Regions from separate parts of the Homo sapiens genome. Here region 2 is linked to region 1. The links are contacts of gene promoters, found by promoter capture Hi-C in blood cells and fetal thymus (Javierre and others, 2016). All regions are on one chromosome and are shown on one strand. Each heading gives the region's core, a stretch centred on a gene start or on the middle of the fragment in contact. The rest is flanking DNA. Distances are from core to core; before and after follow the strand shown. Region 1 holds the start of LRRC53 (leucine rich repeat containing 53). Region 2 overlaps ZRANB2-DT (ZRANB2 divergent transcript).

Region 1 (7,641 bases), core at 3,082-5,581:
AGAGGTTGCTGGAGAAAATACTGTCTATCATGTAGTTAACAATTGTTGATATCATTTTTGTGAACTGGCAATAAGGGCATTTCATCTATGTAGAATATTCCAACACTGAAAAATCCCAGAAGTAAGCTGCCTTAACTTGTTATAATAAGGGTTGGGGAAATGTGGCTATATGAGGGCACATTCATTATTACTACTGGAGAAATAATGCTGGAATTAGTGATGGGGAATATACAAGCCATCCTCAACCAAGCTGTGGAAATGTCCTTCTTTTTAAACGTGGCTGACCATGCCACTTACTGTTGAGGTCCCATGGCCCATAGTAGCAAGGTCCCACGGTCCAGGTCTCAAGCAGCAGGCCTGGGTCTATTTCTCCAGCCTCATCCTCTATTGCTCCCTGCCTCATATAGGCAGGCTCTACACACAATGAACTTCTTTCTCACAGTTTTTCTCACATACTAAGCCCCACAGTAAAAGGACTTCATCTCTTTACTGTGACACCTCATGCCTTGTATTGTACGGATTTGATATTGCCTTCCTGACTCAACTATTCTCATCTTAAGTCAGAAACCATGTCTTATTTTTCCTTTATTTTCATCATTTAGCAACATATCTAGAAATTATGAATCCCTTCCCCATCCAAGTAAATAGTGATTGAGCAGATGAGTGAACAAACAAATGGATAGCAACATTCATTGAGTAGTCTTCAACATTAGTCAAAATTTTTTTTCCTGGCTAATGGGAAATTTCAGAACAGAAATAAATGACCATATTTTTAAAAATTTTGAAATACCAGAGTTATTATCAATAAGAACAGGGATGATTTGCACTTCAGACCTACATTCTCAGCCTAGTTCCAACTCAAAGATCCACAGAAGATGGCTTCACCAGTAAGTTGATTGTCCTTTCCTTCCCCTCTAGTGAGGCTCCTAAAGACATCAGTACTACTCTCTCCATTTACATTTTCTGCAAAGGCAAGTCCCTTCTTCTCAACTGAGTCAGACATCAGAACCTTGAAGGCAGCCAGGAGGTAAACTGGCACTATGGGGCATTAGGTTGGCAGGTGTAAGTATAGTCCTTTTAATAACTAATGATCTCCAGTCTAAAGAAATAGCCAATTTAGGAAGACTAGGCTTCTGAAGAGAAAAACCTCAGATTTCCCTTAGCTTTTATCATACTTATTTTTTGACCTACTTGAATGTCATTGCCAGATTCAGCTTTTAGTTATTTCCATCAGTGTTCAGTCTCCATCCCTCACCTGTTGTGTCTGCCCACCTCAAACCATGATCCCCTTAGTTTGACTACATCGGATGTCAGCCACCTGCCCACCCTGAGTTATGTCTGACCTCAATTACTTGCAATCTCTTCCTGACTTCTGCCCTAATTAGACTTGTGCCTCTTGTAAAACTGGTTGCCAACAGCAACCATCAGAGAAACTTCAGTCAAATAGCACACCCTTTCCTAGTATCATTTCTATATGTATTGGCATGATAAAACGTTAGAATTTCACCTTAACTTTGGTTAACCATATATTTATTTTCTGACAAAGCACCAAAAAATGTCTTTCAAGTCTCATACTGGGTTAGGTGTGGGTTTTCCGCATAGTCCCAAATGATGAAGGAAAAATAACATGACTATGACCCTCAGGAAGGGCACTGACCTAACATTCAGTCTGGAGTTTGTTTTCTTCCTAAGCTCTATGAAGTTATGTCATCCTCTGTATTCATTTCCTAGGGCTGCCATAAGAAAGTTCCAAACACCTGAAGGCTTCAAACAACAGAAATGTATTCTTTCACTGTTATGCAGGTTAAAAGTCCAGAGTCAAGGTGTTGGCAAGGTTGGTTCTTTCTGAAGGAATATTCTGAGGAAAATTCTGTGCCCATGTCCTAGTTTCTGGTGAGGGCTACGATCCTTATATTCCTTGGCTTCTAGGTAGAGCACTTCAGTCCCTGCCTCCATCATCTTCACATGCCATTCTTCTGCGTGTCTTTGTGCTCTTCTTATAAAGACACAAGTCATCTTGAATTAAGGGCCCACCCTACTCCAGTATAAACTCCTATGAACTTCTCACATCTGCAACAACCCTGTTTCCAAATAGGGTCACATTTTGAGGTACCAGGGTCTGAGACTTCAACATATCTTTTTGGGGGATACAATTCAACCCACAATACCCCTTCACATTTTTACCACAGTCTTGATCTTGTTTTTTATCATGAGTTCCAAACAGAATTTCTTATGGTGTCCTAAAAAGAGCACACATGGCTTTGGGATTAGATAGACTGGAGTCAATCCCAGCTTCCCCCCTTACTATCTCAGAAGATGTTTCCTGTTTTGACCAGTTTTCCCATCTTCAAAATGGAGATAATATCTACCTAGCAAATAATTGGGGATATTATATTAATAATATGTGTACTAGTACATAGTAGGTTCTCAATAAATTCTATCAAGACTTTTCTTCTTAAGTGAATAATTGTTAGATAGTAGAGAACAACAGCAATTTCTATTAAAATGGACCTTTTCATTAATGCTCCCCTTTTTACTTAAATGCTTCCTCTCGATAAGGAACTTCTGTGCAAGTGTATACACAATCACACAAATTGCCAAAAGCATCACAAAGCGCTTTCAGCTTGTCAGCTTGTAAGCCTCTGACAAATACATAGAATTGTGTGAAAACGCTTTAAAACAATTGCTCCTAGCATTTTGGTCAGAATGTATTTATTAGACCGTATCTTATACTTGATTGTGAAAATAAACAAGGACATAAATGATCTGGCTTTAAATGCTCTATAAAATCTGCATTACAAGACTCTATGATTCATAAAGGAAGCTTCTATTTTGGTGTGCCTGGGTAAATTTGGCTATGCAAACTTCGAATAGCCTTTGAATTGAAAAACGCAGTTATCGTTTACTGGCTGACAACCTTTTCAAGGGAGAGAGAGGCAGGCACTGTACAACCAAAGATAACTTTACTTAATTAGTTTTTGGAAGATTATTTACTCCCCTTAGTCTATAGAAAAACAAAGGTCTGTCAGCACCAGATGCATCTGAGCTTTGCAGATGCGGTTGTGGCTTCTTGAAATCTTTAAAGATTCATCTAAAATATGCTTTCAGGTCTCCTTTTTGTGAAACTTTGACAGGATAATAGAATTAGATTTGCTGAAATTCACTAAACTGTAAAGTAATGTGTCATCAGCTTCACTTACTTTCCAAAAAATATTTCTCTCTGGTAATGCTCATCAATCTAGCTTTTCAACCCCTAAACATGAAACTCTGAAACAAAAAGGATGACTCCATCAGTTACGCAAGTGACAAGATGTTAAACATTTAACACTCCCACATAGTAGCGCCAGCTGCCTCTGGATGAAGCAGATTTGCTTAGGTTTGGCATAGAGAAAAAAAGGAAGACAAAGAGAAGAAAAATGAAAGGAAGAGGAACTCCTCTTGCAGTGAGAATGCAAAGTTCTCTGCAGATGTGCAGGAGTCTGAAGTGGGATGTGCCTTCTGCACAAACCTTTTCTTCTGAGGGAACATTGCAAAGACAGTCATCATCAGGTTCTCAACTCCTACTACCAGTGCCCCTGCATCCCCAACATTTCATGGACTCACTCTGATAAGAACACCTAGTGCACTGGATTAAAATAATGAAAGGACAGGGACTCAGTAAATTTCCACATCCCGGTATAATTTCTCAATAAATATCAGCTGAATAAACGAACTAGGAAAGCACACGTGGACCTCTGGGTCATTCGGACTCTTTCTCCACAACCATTTCCTCATCTTAGGCACCTACCTCTGCTGTAATCTCAGGCCAGTGAAACAGTATCGACTGAGCAAGCTGTGTGCTAGGTTGATTCTAACAACAGAATCCCTTGACTTTGTTAACAGCCCCAAACTGGCATCAACTTTAAAGAGTCAAGACTATTTTCCTCTTTAAGTGTCTTATCAAGAGGAATGTTAGTGAAAGGGCAAAAGTCGTCTATAGTTTTCCACGGTGAGCCATTTACCCGGATGAGGGACAGAAAAGGCCAGCTTTAGGTGATCACATAGTGACCCCATCATAAGGCTTGTTAACAGAGAAGTTTTCCTTGTAGAGTGAGGCATGCTGCAGGGGGTGCCCATTTTGAAGAATACAGTATGAAGCTCCCAACAGTGAAGACAGAATGGTATAAATAGCAACCCGTCAGTGGTAGGTGTTTGTTCTTTCACTCAGTGGACTTCTGATGAGTAACTACCATGTGCCAGGCGTTATTCCAGGCACTAAAGGATGAAGCCAGGAGGGGGTGGTGTGGGAGTGGAGATGCATATAAAGAGGAATAAGGCATATGGCTGAGATGCTGGACAGTTAACTCAGTAGGTCTCAGATTCATCATCCACCTTTTAATGTAGAGATTCACAAACTACAAGCTGTGAGACCTTTGGGTAAGTTAATTTCTTTCTTTTGGTGTTTTTGTTATGATGGCTGGATTTTTACACCTTTATTTCTCTTTCCTCACCATTTAAAGAGACAGACTTATAAACAGATGATCATGTGGGTGATGTCATCAGTACAGGAATGTCATCAGTGCAGGAATAGTTGAGTGCCATGAGCCACCCTGCAGTGTTGCCTGTTTTGCACAGTTCTAGGGGCCAATCTTGGGTTCAAGGTGGAGCTCTACTGTGTCTATGTCACTCATGTCTCATCTAGATTACCATATTATCCCTAGCTCCATGTTTGAGTCTGTACAATCACTGACAGTAAACACAGCTGCAGAAATCATGCCCCTTTATGGTCCCTCACAGGTTCGAGTCATGCCCCAGGGCTATTTCAATAAAGACTGGTGGCTGCTATATCCAGTCCCATCCAGATCTTTTCATGCTCACTGCCTGAATGAAGAGAAGAGTCTGAGGTCTCAGTGACTGGAAGGGAAGCTGCATGAAGGAAAGCTGCCCTCTTCCTTCCGATTTTCCTTGGGTACTGAACTTACTTGACTCCATGTTCTTTTATTTCTACTTCTATTGACTTTAGATCCTCATCTATAGCTTCTGCTCTACCCACACTCAACCCTTTGCTGTTCCCAAATGTACTGTGCAGGTTCCCACTTTCCTGCCTTTGTCCCTGTTGCTTCCCTTTCCTAGTACACTCTTTCTTCCTTTCTCTGCTTGGTTAACTCTGCCAAACTCAAGTGAAACGGGATGGCTTTTGGGAAGCCTACCTTGACTCTTCTCAGGCTCACAGGGCTTCCTACACATGGCTCAGTACTTATCTTCCTGTGTGTTTCTCTGACCTCCTCCCTTAAACTGTGAATTCCCCCAGGACTGAAGAGATCTCTAATCCATCATTGGGTGTCCAATATTTACTACATGATTCAATATATAAGAGCTGCTTAATAAATGATAGATAAATGCATATCCAATGGAATTAGATCAGTGAAGAGGCTAGCGTAATAGGGAAAATGACACATACATTTGTGTTTTCCACCTGTAAGTAATATATTGTTAATTCTTTAAATAAAGAAAATAAGAGTGAATTACTTGAGGTCAGGAGTTCGAGACCAGGAGTTCGAGGCCAACATGGCAAAACCCTATCTCTACTAAAAATACAAAAATTAGCAGGGTGTAGTGACGTGTGCCTGTAGTCCCAGCTACTCGGGAGCCTGAGGCACGAGAATTGCTTGAACCCGGGAGGCAGAGGTTGTGGTGAGCCGAGATCGCACCATTGCACTCCAGCCTGGGCAATAAGAGCGAAATTCCATCTCGGAAAAAAAAAAAATAGGCCGGGCACGGTAGCTCACGCCTGTAATCCCAGCACTTTGGGAGGCCAAGGCGGATGGATCACCTGAGGTGATCACCAGGAGTTCCAGACCAGCCTGGCCAACATGGTGAAACTCTGTTTCTACTAAAGATACAAACATTAGCTGGGCATGGTGGCAGACGCCTGTAATTCCAGCTACTTGGGAGGCTGAGGCAGGAGAATCACTTGAACCTGGGAGGCAGAGGTTGCAGTGAGCCAAGATCGCACCATTGTACTCCAGCCTGGGGGACAAGAGTGAGACTTCGTCTCAAAAAAGAAAAAAAGCATATTCAGTTTGCTAAAACTCTTTATACAAGAATACAAGACTAGCTATCAAAATACTGGGCCTCTCTGGGTAGGGGCAGACACAGTGCTGTGTACCTAGAGGGAAATCAACACACATTTGTGAGCTAGTTGATTAATTCCATGAACTTTTCAATGCTAGCCATATTTAATTAAACTTTATATACTGTTCAAGATCCTATATATGTCTTTCCCAAAGAGAAACGGAAGTTTATTTAACAAAGTATAACACATAGATCTGGTAGTTGGTAGTTTTGAACAAATTATAGACAAGGTGCTGTTTAATTTAATGAGCAATAATTTTTTAAAAATTCAAGAGATTTGACAATCTCTCAATAATTTTTTTCTCATTTTATTCTTTTTTGAGACGGAGTCTCACTCTGTCACCCAGGCTAGAGTGCAGTGGCGCGATGTCGGCTCTCTGCAAGCTCCACCTCCCGGGTTCAAGCCATTCTCCTGCCTCAGCCTCCTGAGTAGCTGGGACTACAGGCGCCAGGCACCATGCCCGGCTAATATTTTTTGTATTTTTAGTAGAGACGGGGCTTCACCATGTTAGCCAGGATGGTCTCGATCTCCTGACCTCGTGATCTGCCCGCCTCGGCCTCCGAAAGTGCTGGGATTACAGGCGTGAGCCACTGCACCTGGCCTCAGATCTTTTTAAAAGGTGAGAACTGATTGCCCTCTCTACTACTGATCTCAGGAAGTAAAAATCAGGGGGTAAGAAATGTAGTTAAACATCTCTAAGTCATGTTTAAACTCAGAACTGTCTACCTTTTACAAAAGAAATAAAATACCCAAAGAATACACAAGCAATAGAAAATCTGTGACATTGAAATTCAAGCTGGGCGCATAGGCTCACACCTTGGAAAGCAAGCAGATCGCTTGAATTCAGGAATTCAAGACCAGCCTGGGTGACTTGGTGAAACCCTGTCTCTACAAAAAATACAAAAATTAGCCAAGTGCAGTGGCGTATGCCTGTAGTTCCAGCTACTTGGGGAGCTGAGGAGGGAAAATCACCTGAGCCTGGGGAAGTTGAGGCTGCAGTGAGCCATAATCGCACAACTGTACTGGGTAACAAAGTGAGACCCTGTCTCAAAAAAAAAAAAAAAAAAAAAAAAAAAAAAGAAATTCAGATCACTCAAAACCAGAAAGCAGTTCATAGGTACCTTTCAAAATCAAACACAACACTCTATTCCTTAACATATATGACATGACAAAAACAACAATCAACATTTTAATATTGGTGCTTTGTCCTCAATTTTATTTATTTCATAATTTCATAATTCATTGTCCTCTATGTTAATCTGATAAAATATTATTGAAGAAAAGAGTATACGATTTATCTTGCCCTAAACAATAAAGGACAATTTTTAAAATAAAATGAAAATCATTCATTTGTGTAAAACCAATAAATTTAGATTTGTTAGTTCTCAAGCATCTTAAATCTTTTCTATTGTTATGTAGTACTCTAGCATTCAGCAGCCACATTCACAATTGACTATCGCTTTATTTTCAGGGATTATAGAGAAAAATTGAAACCCTCAAATGTCATTTTCCTGATTTCTGTCATT
Region 2 (7,641 bases), core at 3,845-6,344, 3.4 Mb after region 1:
AGTATGGTAAGAGAAATTGAAAGGTAAATATCAGAACAAACAGCTAAAACAGATTGAAAATAAATGTTTCCAGAGAAAGGGAAGAGGAGAGGGGTTTGCTTCTATTTATTTCTTTATGTACTGTTGTAGTACTTTTAAAATTAAGCACAAATATTACTTTGAGAATAAAAATTAACATTTTTAAAAGTAAATAAAAGATAAGAACTTTGGAAAATTTCATATACTTATAGAACCCTAACCAATAACAAATTGTAGCATAAGTCTAGTCATATTTTCTTTAATGAAATTAAACATTAGCTGTTTAATATATTTCTTGCAGTCTTTATGTACTAATGCACACTGCAATTTTCATAATATGAAAAGATTAATTTTAGATCAAATCAGTTAAAACTTCTATAAATTCTGGATTGTATGAACATCAAATTATTTTGATTACTAAGGTATTCTCTTAGGTCCCTTTTTGATTATTATTGCTACATAATGAATCATTCCAAAACACAGTGGCTTAAATCATTTTATTATTATCTCTCTTAATTTTGAGGTTCTGGTTCGAGGTCTTTCATGCAGTTGTATTCAGATGACTGTCGTGGCGTAATCCCAAAGGCTTCCTCACATGATCAGACCAGCCGAGTTCAAACTGGGATATGTATACTTTGGTGGCATGAATAATTTCAAGGAAATAATTGCTACATCCTGAACTTAACATGTACTCTTTCCTAAAATTTGACTGTCAGAATACTTATTCTGGTTTTTCTTATCCTTGTTATCCTTGTTACACTTTCAAAAAGAGGGATGCTTGTCATCCATTTTACCATGGCACATTGACCCTGAGTGCAAAAATCTCCAGAGTTCTAGGACGATTCAAAATATTGCTATTAGTGTTCAGAAAGTAAATGACCCTAATAACTGAATAATAAAACCTAGAATTAGTTTCAATTCTTTGCCTTTAACAAAATTGAAAGAAGACCTAATTGAGATGACAGCTGGTACATCATTAAAAATAATTTTTGATGATAGATAACTATGTGATTTTTGGCATATAACTTGGAAGGAGTTCAAATATTTGAATGACACTGCTAAAACACAACTCTTTCCATTCCCACCTACTTATTTATGAGAATACATTTTCTCAGATCTCGTATCTATAAAAACAAAAATAGAATAGTTTTTTTTATTATTATACTTTAAGTTTTAAGGTACATGTGCACAATGTGCAGGTTAGTTGCATATGTATACATGTGCCATGCTGGTGCGCTGCACCCATTAACTCGTCATTTAGCATTAGGTATATCTCCTAATGCTATCCCTCCCCACTCCCCCCCTCGCCCCACCCCACAACAGTCCCCAGAGTGTGATGTTCCCCTTCCTGTGTCCATGTGTTCTCATTGTTCAATTCCCATCTATGAGTGAGAACATGCAGGGTTTGGTTTTTTGTCCTTGTGATAGTTTACTGAAAATGATGATTTCCAGTTTCATCCATGTCCCTAAAAAGGACATGAACTCATCATTTTTTATGGCTGCATAGTATTCCATGGTGTATATGTGCCACATTTTCTTAATCCCGTCTATCATTGTTGGACATTTGGCTTGGTTCCAAGTCTTTGCTATTGTGAATAGTGCCGCAATAAACATACGTGTGCATGTGTCTTTATAGCAGCATGATTTATAATCCTTTGGGTATATACCCAGTAATGGGATGGCTGGGTCAAATGGTATTTCTAGTTCTAGATCCCTGAGGAATCGCCACACTGACTTCCACAATGGTTGAACTAGTTTACAGTCCCAAGAACAGTGTAAAAGTGTTCCTATTTCTCCATATCCTCTCCAGCACCTGTTGTTTCCTGACTTTTTAATGATTGCCATTCTAACTGGTGTGAGATGGTATGTCATTGTGGTTTTGATTTGCATTTCTCTGATGGCCAGTGATGATGAGCATTTTTTCATGTGTCTGTTGGCTGCATAAATGTCTTCTTTTGAGAAGTGTCTGTTCATATCCTTTGCCCACTTTTTGATGGGGTTGTTTTTTTCTTGTAAATTTGTTTGAGTTCATTGTAGATTCTGGATATTAGCCCTTTGTCAGATGAGTAGGTTGCGAAAATTTTCTCCCATTTTGTAGGTTGCCTGTTCACTCTGATGGTAGTTTCTTTTGCTGTGCAGAGGCTCTTTAGTTTAATTAGATCTCATTTGTCAATTTTGGCTTTTGTTGCCATTGCTTTTGGTGGTTTAGACATTAAGTCCTTGCCCATGCCTATGTCCTGAATGGTAATGCTTAGGTTTTCTTCTAGGGTTTTTATGGTTTTAGGTCTAACGTTTAAGTCTTTAATCCATCTTGAATTAATTTTTGTATAAGGTGTAAGGAAGGGATCCAGTTTCAGCTTTCTACATATGGCTAGCCAGTTTTCCCAGCACCATTTATTAAATAGGGAATCCTTTCCCCATGTCTTGTTTTTGTCAGGTTTGCCAAAGATCAGATAGTTGTAGATATGCGGCATTATTTCTGAGGGCTCTGTTCTGTTCCATTGATCTATATCTCTGTTTTGGTACCAGTATCATGCTGTTTTGGTTACTGTAGCCTTGTAGTATAATTTGAAGACAGGTAGGGTGATGCCTCCAGCTTTGTTCTTTTGGCTTAGGATTGACTTGGCGATGCAGGCTCTTTTTTGGTTCCGTATGAACTTTAAAGTAGTTTTTTCCAATTCTGTGAACAAAGTCATTGGTAGCTTGATGGGGATGGCATTGAATCTATAAATTACCTTGGGCAGTATGGCCACTTTCACGATATTGATTCTTCCTACCCATGAGCATGGAATGTTCTTCCATTTGTTTGTATCCTCTTTTATTTCCTTCAGCAGTGGTTTGTAGTTCTCCTTGAAGAGGTCCTTCACGTCCCTTGTAAGCTGGATTCCTAGGTATTTTATTCTCTTTGAAGCAATTGTGAATGGGAGTTCACTCATGATTTGGCTCTCTGTCTGTTATTGGTGTGTAAGAATGCTTGTGATTTTTGTATGTTGATTTTGTATCCTGAGACTTTGCTGAAGTTGCTTATCAGCTTAAGGAGATTTTGGGCTGAGACAATGGGGTTTTCTAGATATACAATCATGTCGTCTGCAAACAGGGACAATTTGACTTCCTCTTTTCCTAATTGAATACCCTTTATTTCTTTCTCTTGCCTAATTGCCCTGGCCAGAACTTCCAACACTATGTTGAATAGGAGTAGTGAGAGAGGGCATCCCTGCCTTGTGCCAATTTTCAAAGGGAATGCTTCCAGTTTTTGCCCATTCAGTATGATATTGGTTGTGGGTTTGTCATAGATAGCTCTTATTATTTTGAGATATGTCCCATCAATACCTAATTTATTGAGAGTTTTTAGCATGAAGGTTGTTGAATTTTGTCAAAGGCCTTTTCTACATCTATTGAGATAACCATGTGGTTTTTGTCTTTGGTTCTGTTTATATGCTGGATTACATTTATTGATTTGCGTATATTGAACCAGCCTTGCATCCCAGGGATGAAGCCCACTTGATCATGGTGGATAAGCTTTTTGATGTGCTGCTGGATTCGGTTTGCCAGTACTTTATTGAGGATTTTTGCATCAATGTTCATCAAGGATATTGGTCTAAATTCTCTTTTTTTGTTGTGTCTCTGCCCGGCTTTGGTATCAGGATGATGCTGGCCTCATAAAATGAGTTAGGGATGATTCCCTCTTTTTCTATTGATTGGAATAGTTTCAGAAGGAATGGTACCAGTTCCTCCTTGTACCTCTGGTAGAATTCGGCTGTGAATCCATCTGGTCCTGGGCTCTTTTTGGTTGGTAAGCTATTGATTATTGCCACAATTTCAGATCCTGTTATTGGTCTATTCAGAGATTCAACTTCTTCCTGGTTTAGTCTTGGGAGAGTGTATGTGTCGAGGAATTTATCCATTTCTTCTAGATTTTCTAGTTTATTTGCATAGAGGTGTTTGTAGTATTCTCTGATGGTAGTTTGTATTCGTGTGGGATCGGTGGTGATATCCCCTTTATCATTTTTTATTGCATCTATTTGATTCTTCTCCATTTTCTTCTTTATTAGTCTTGCTAGCAGTCTATCAATTTTGTTGATCCTTTCAAAAAACCAGCTCCTGGATTCATTAATTTTTTGAAGGGTTTTTTTGGTCTCTATTTCCTTCAGTTCTGCTCTGATTTTAGTTATTTCTTGCCTTCTGCTAGCTTTTGAATGTGTTTGCTCTTGCTTTTCTAGTTCTTTTAATTGTGATGTTCGGGTGTCAATTTTGGATCTTTCCTGCTTTCTCCTGTGGGCATTTAGTGCTATAAATTTCCCTCTACACACTGCTTTGAATGTGTCCCAGAGATTCTGGTATGTTGTGTCTTTGTTCTCATTGGTTTCAAAGAACATCTTTATTTCTGCCTTCATTTCGTTATGTACCCAGTAGTCATTCAGGAGCAGGTTGTTCAGTTTCCATGTAGTTGAGTGGTTTTGAGTGAGTTTCTTAGACTCCCAGACAATAATAATGGGAGACTTTAACACCCCACTGTCAACATTAGACAGATCAACAAGACAGAAAGTTAACAAGGATACCCAGGAATTGAACTCACCTCTGCACCAAGTGGACCTAATAGACATCTACAGAACTCTCCACCCCAAATCAACAGAATATACATTTTTTTCAGCACCACACCACACCTATTCCAAAATTGACCACATAGTTGGAAGTAAAGCTCTCCTCAGCAAATGTAAAAGAACAGAAATTATAACAAACTGTCTCTCAGACCACAGTGCAATCAAACTAGAACTCAGGATTAAGAAACTCAATCAAATAGAATAGATTGATGCTAAGCTTTGACTCATTCTAGCAATAAGTAATATTCAGCCACAGATACATACATTTATTAAACAAGAAATTGCTCAATCATGAGAATAATGAATATAATTCTAATATATTTTAGTTTTTATGTATATTATCTAAAAATTATTCATGATGTTTAGGTTAATTATATATTAATATGAATAATGAAAATTGAATTCAGAAGAATTCTTAACACCTGGAGTCTACATCACCAAATTTTTAATTACTTTTTCAATGTACATCCATATTGTTGTGGTAGGAAAAGGGTAATTACTAAAAGACTTTGAGGCAGAAAGAATGCATTAAACTAGGCTAAATCCTATTGAAAAAGTGGTATAGAAATAGAAGTTCAGGGTAACTTGTGACTGTTACAGATGAATTAGTTTAAGTACTTTAATATCGATTTTTCATGAGAATCGAAATGGCTATATCTCAAGAAGATACAACTTTTATGTCAATATTTACAATTTACAGTAAACTATATATTTTACAATGATCTAAGCTTAAATTGAGAAATTTTAGAGGTCAATTTACTTAGAGTCAATTTTAGAGGGATATAAGTTTTTAAGATGTACTTAAGATCACTGATTTATAATCTTAAAATAATCAACGAAACAACATAAAATTTGAACCTTATTTAACAGTATTTTACTTCAGAGTTATTTTTGTTAGTTGAGGCCAGGAGCAGTGGCTCACGCCTGTAATCCCAGCATTTACAGGCCAAGGCAGGCAGATCACGAAGTCAGGAGATCGAGACCATCCTGGCTAACACGGTGAAACCTCATCTCAACTAAAAATACAAAAAATTAGCCAGGTGTGGTGGCGGGCGCCTGTAGCCCCAGCTACTTGGGAGGCTGAGGCAGGAGAATGGTGTGAACCTGGGAGGCGGAGCTTGCAGTGAGCCGAGATCGCGCCACTGCACTCCAGCCTGGGCGACAGAGCGAGAGCCCGTCTCAAAAAAAAAAATAAAAAGTTATTTTTGTTAGTTGAAAGGAAGAATTTCTGAACATTTTCATATCCTGTTCACCTATACAGTTATTTTTATTGTACATTGTACATGTAATTGTGAGGCAATTGAGTAGCAAAATGAAAGAAGAAAACCTTGTTTCATTAAACCTGGCAGAAAATTGGTATGGCTGAATTTTATTATCATGCCTAAGACTAATTAATTAGAACTGAGATTTCTGGTATTGCCTAGAACTATTTTTACATACACAAAGGAACATGCCTAGAGTGTAATTAGAAATCTCTTTATTATGACACTTTTGAGGAATATGAGGGATATGGAAATATAGAGATAAATGCTTGTCCATTTCTTTTAAAGATTATTAGTGATATTTACTGAATATAAGACATCGATATCTAGATATGTATTCCTTGCTCTTTTGAATGACTCAGTGCCCCGCCAAAAGCAAGCTGGTACGCCCAGCCTCAAATAATCTTAATGATATTATTTACTCCAAGGCTCATCGTTGATGCCTGTCACAGGGTAGATGCTCAATGTCTGTTTGTTGAATTATTGAATGAATGAAAGAACTGGAATTTATCCAGTTAGTGAGTCAGTCAGGAAGACTTTTCCACTTTCAGAAATGTTCTATTAAAGTACAAATGTACATTGTACAGTGTTCCCAAAAGTCAGCTCATATTTTTGACTGCATCAGTGTTACTCGGAGTGTGTTGTAAATTTAACTTCCTGTACCCCACCTCATACTACTACTGCTAAATACTTTAAGCAACATGAGGTCTAAGAATCTTCATTTCTAACAGTCTCCCCAGTTGACTGGCATGCACAGTATTGACAGGAAGCTGGAGAATCAGTTTGGAAACAACAAAAACTAGGGCAGATTCATTCAGAGAATGAGAAAACAGGAAAGACGGTCAGAGGCTCAGGGGGAAAATAGTCTGGTCAGGGCACCAACCACTGCTGGAAATGAAACAATGCTGAACGTTTGTTTCACCGTGTTCAAGATTCAAATTTGAGAAAAGGACTGACTACAGGACTACCCGGGGTCAGGTTGGTACCTTTGTTTAGGGTGAGGTAAGGGCCATCATTAATAGTTTCACTAGACTGTATCAGATTAAGAAGACATTTTTCTACAAACATAAACCAAAATGCTGGTAGAAATTAGGAATGTTTTCTAGGAAGCCAAAAATAAAAATTACAGACATAAGGCTATACACAATGAAATGGAGTGCCTCATAAAGCAGCATGTGTACTGTCAACACAGAACTTAATACCAGACTTTCGCTCAACTTGAACAATATAGAAAGAATTCCTGCCTCAAGTGCCATTGGATAACCTTGAAATTTGTCTCCCATTGAGAGTCTGTTCCTCTGTATTACTAATTGAATCCCAAAATCATCCAATTCAGCATTTAAAAATCAATCAAACATTGTTTGAAATCCTTTAGAAAAACTAAATAATTGATTATGATGGTGACTTTTTTGCTTTTACACATTTTAATTGTGTCTAATGATAGAATACTAGGTAATGTTTATCGTAGGAAAGAATAATGAATCGTAATCTGCTCAGCTCTTGGCCCTTCTAGCCAACCAACTCCTTTCACTCATATGCCCACTGTTCCCTAAAGAAAAACCTCAGTTATCTGATCCTCTACCATTGTCAAATTAGGACATTGTCAAAGAACCACCTATTCACTCCCGAAAGGCTTTTGCTCTTTTCATATCTTATTTCTTTGCTAAAAGTTTTTTGGCTTAATTTTTGGCCCAGAAAATCTAATGTTCTTTCTTTCCTCTGACAGATTTCTTCTTTCTTTCTTCTGACAGATTTGCCAA

Evidence for each region. Contacts are between HindIII fragments. The CHiCAGO score rates a contact against its expected background, and 5 or more counts as called.
Region 2: a contact is called between a fragment that was not itself captured here and the fragment with the promoter of LRRC53 in region 1, in 1 of 17 cell types (endothelial precursors). The highest score is 5.2, in endothelial precursors.

The regions. Positions count from the first base shown.
Region 1 is chr1:74,509,301-74,516,941 of GRCh38, reverse strand. LRRC53 (leucine rich repeat containing 53) reads left to right here and starts at 4,331. Exons shown (of 5, transcript NM_001382280.1): 1 at 4,331-4,416. The region is part of intron 25 of FPGT-TNNI3K (FPGT-TNNI3K readthrough); the gene reads right to left. The region is part of intron 23 of TNNI3K (TNNI3 interacting kinase); the gene reads right to left. The HindIII fragment of the contact is 6,650 bases long and covers 2,827-7,641 here.
Region 2 is chr1:71,105,890-71,113,530 of GRCh38, reverse strand. The region is part of intron 2 of ZRANB2-DT (ZRANB2 divergent transcript); the gene reads right to left. Among named protein-coding and RNA genes, the nearest start is that of ZRANB2-DT, 28 kb to the right of the region's middle. The HindIII fragment of the contact is 511 bases long and covers 4,839-5,349 here.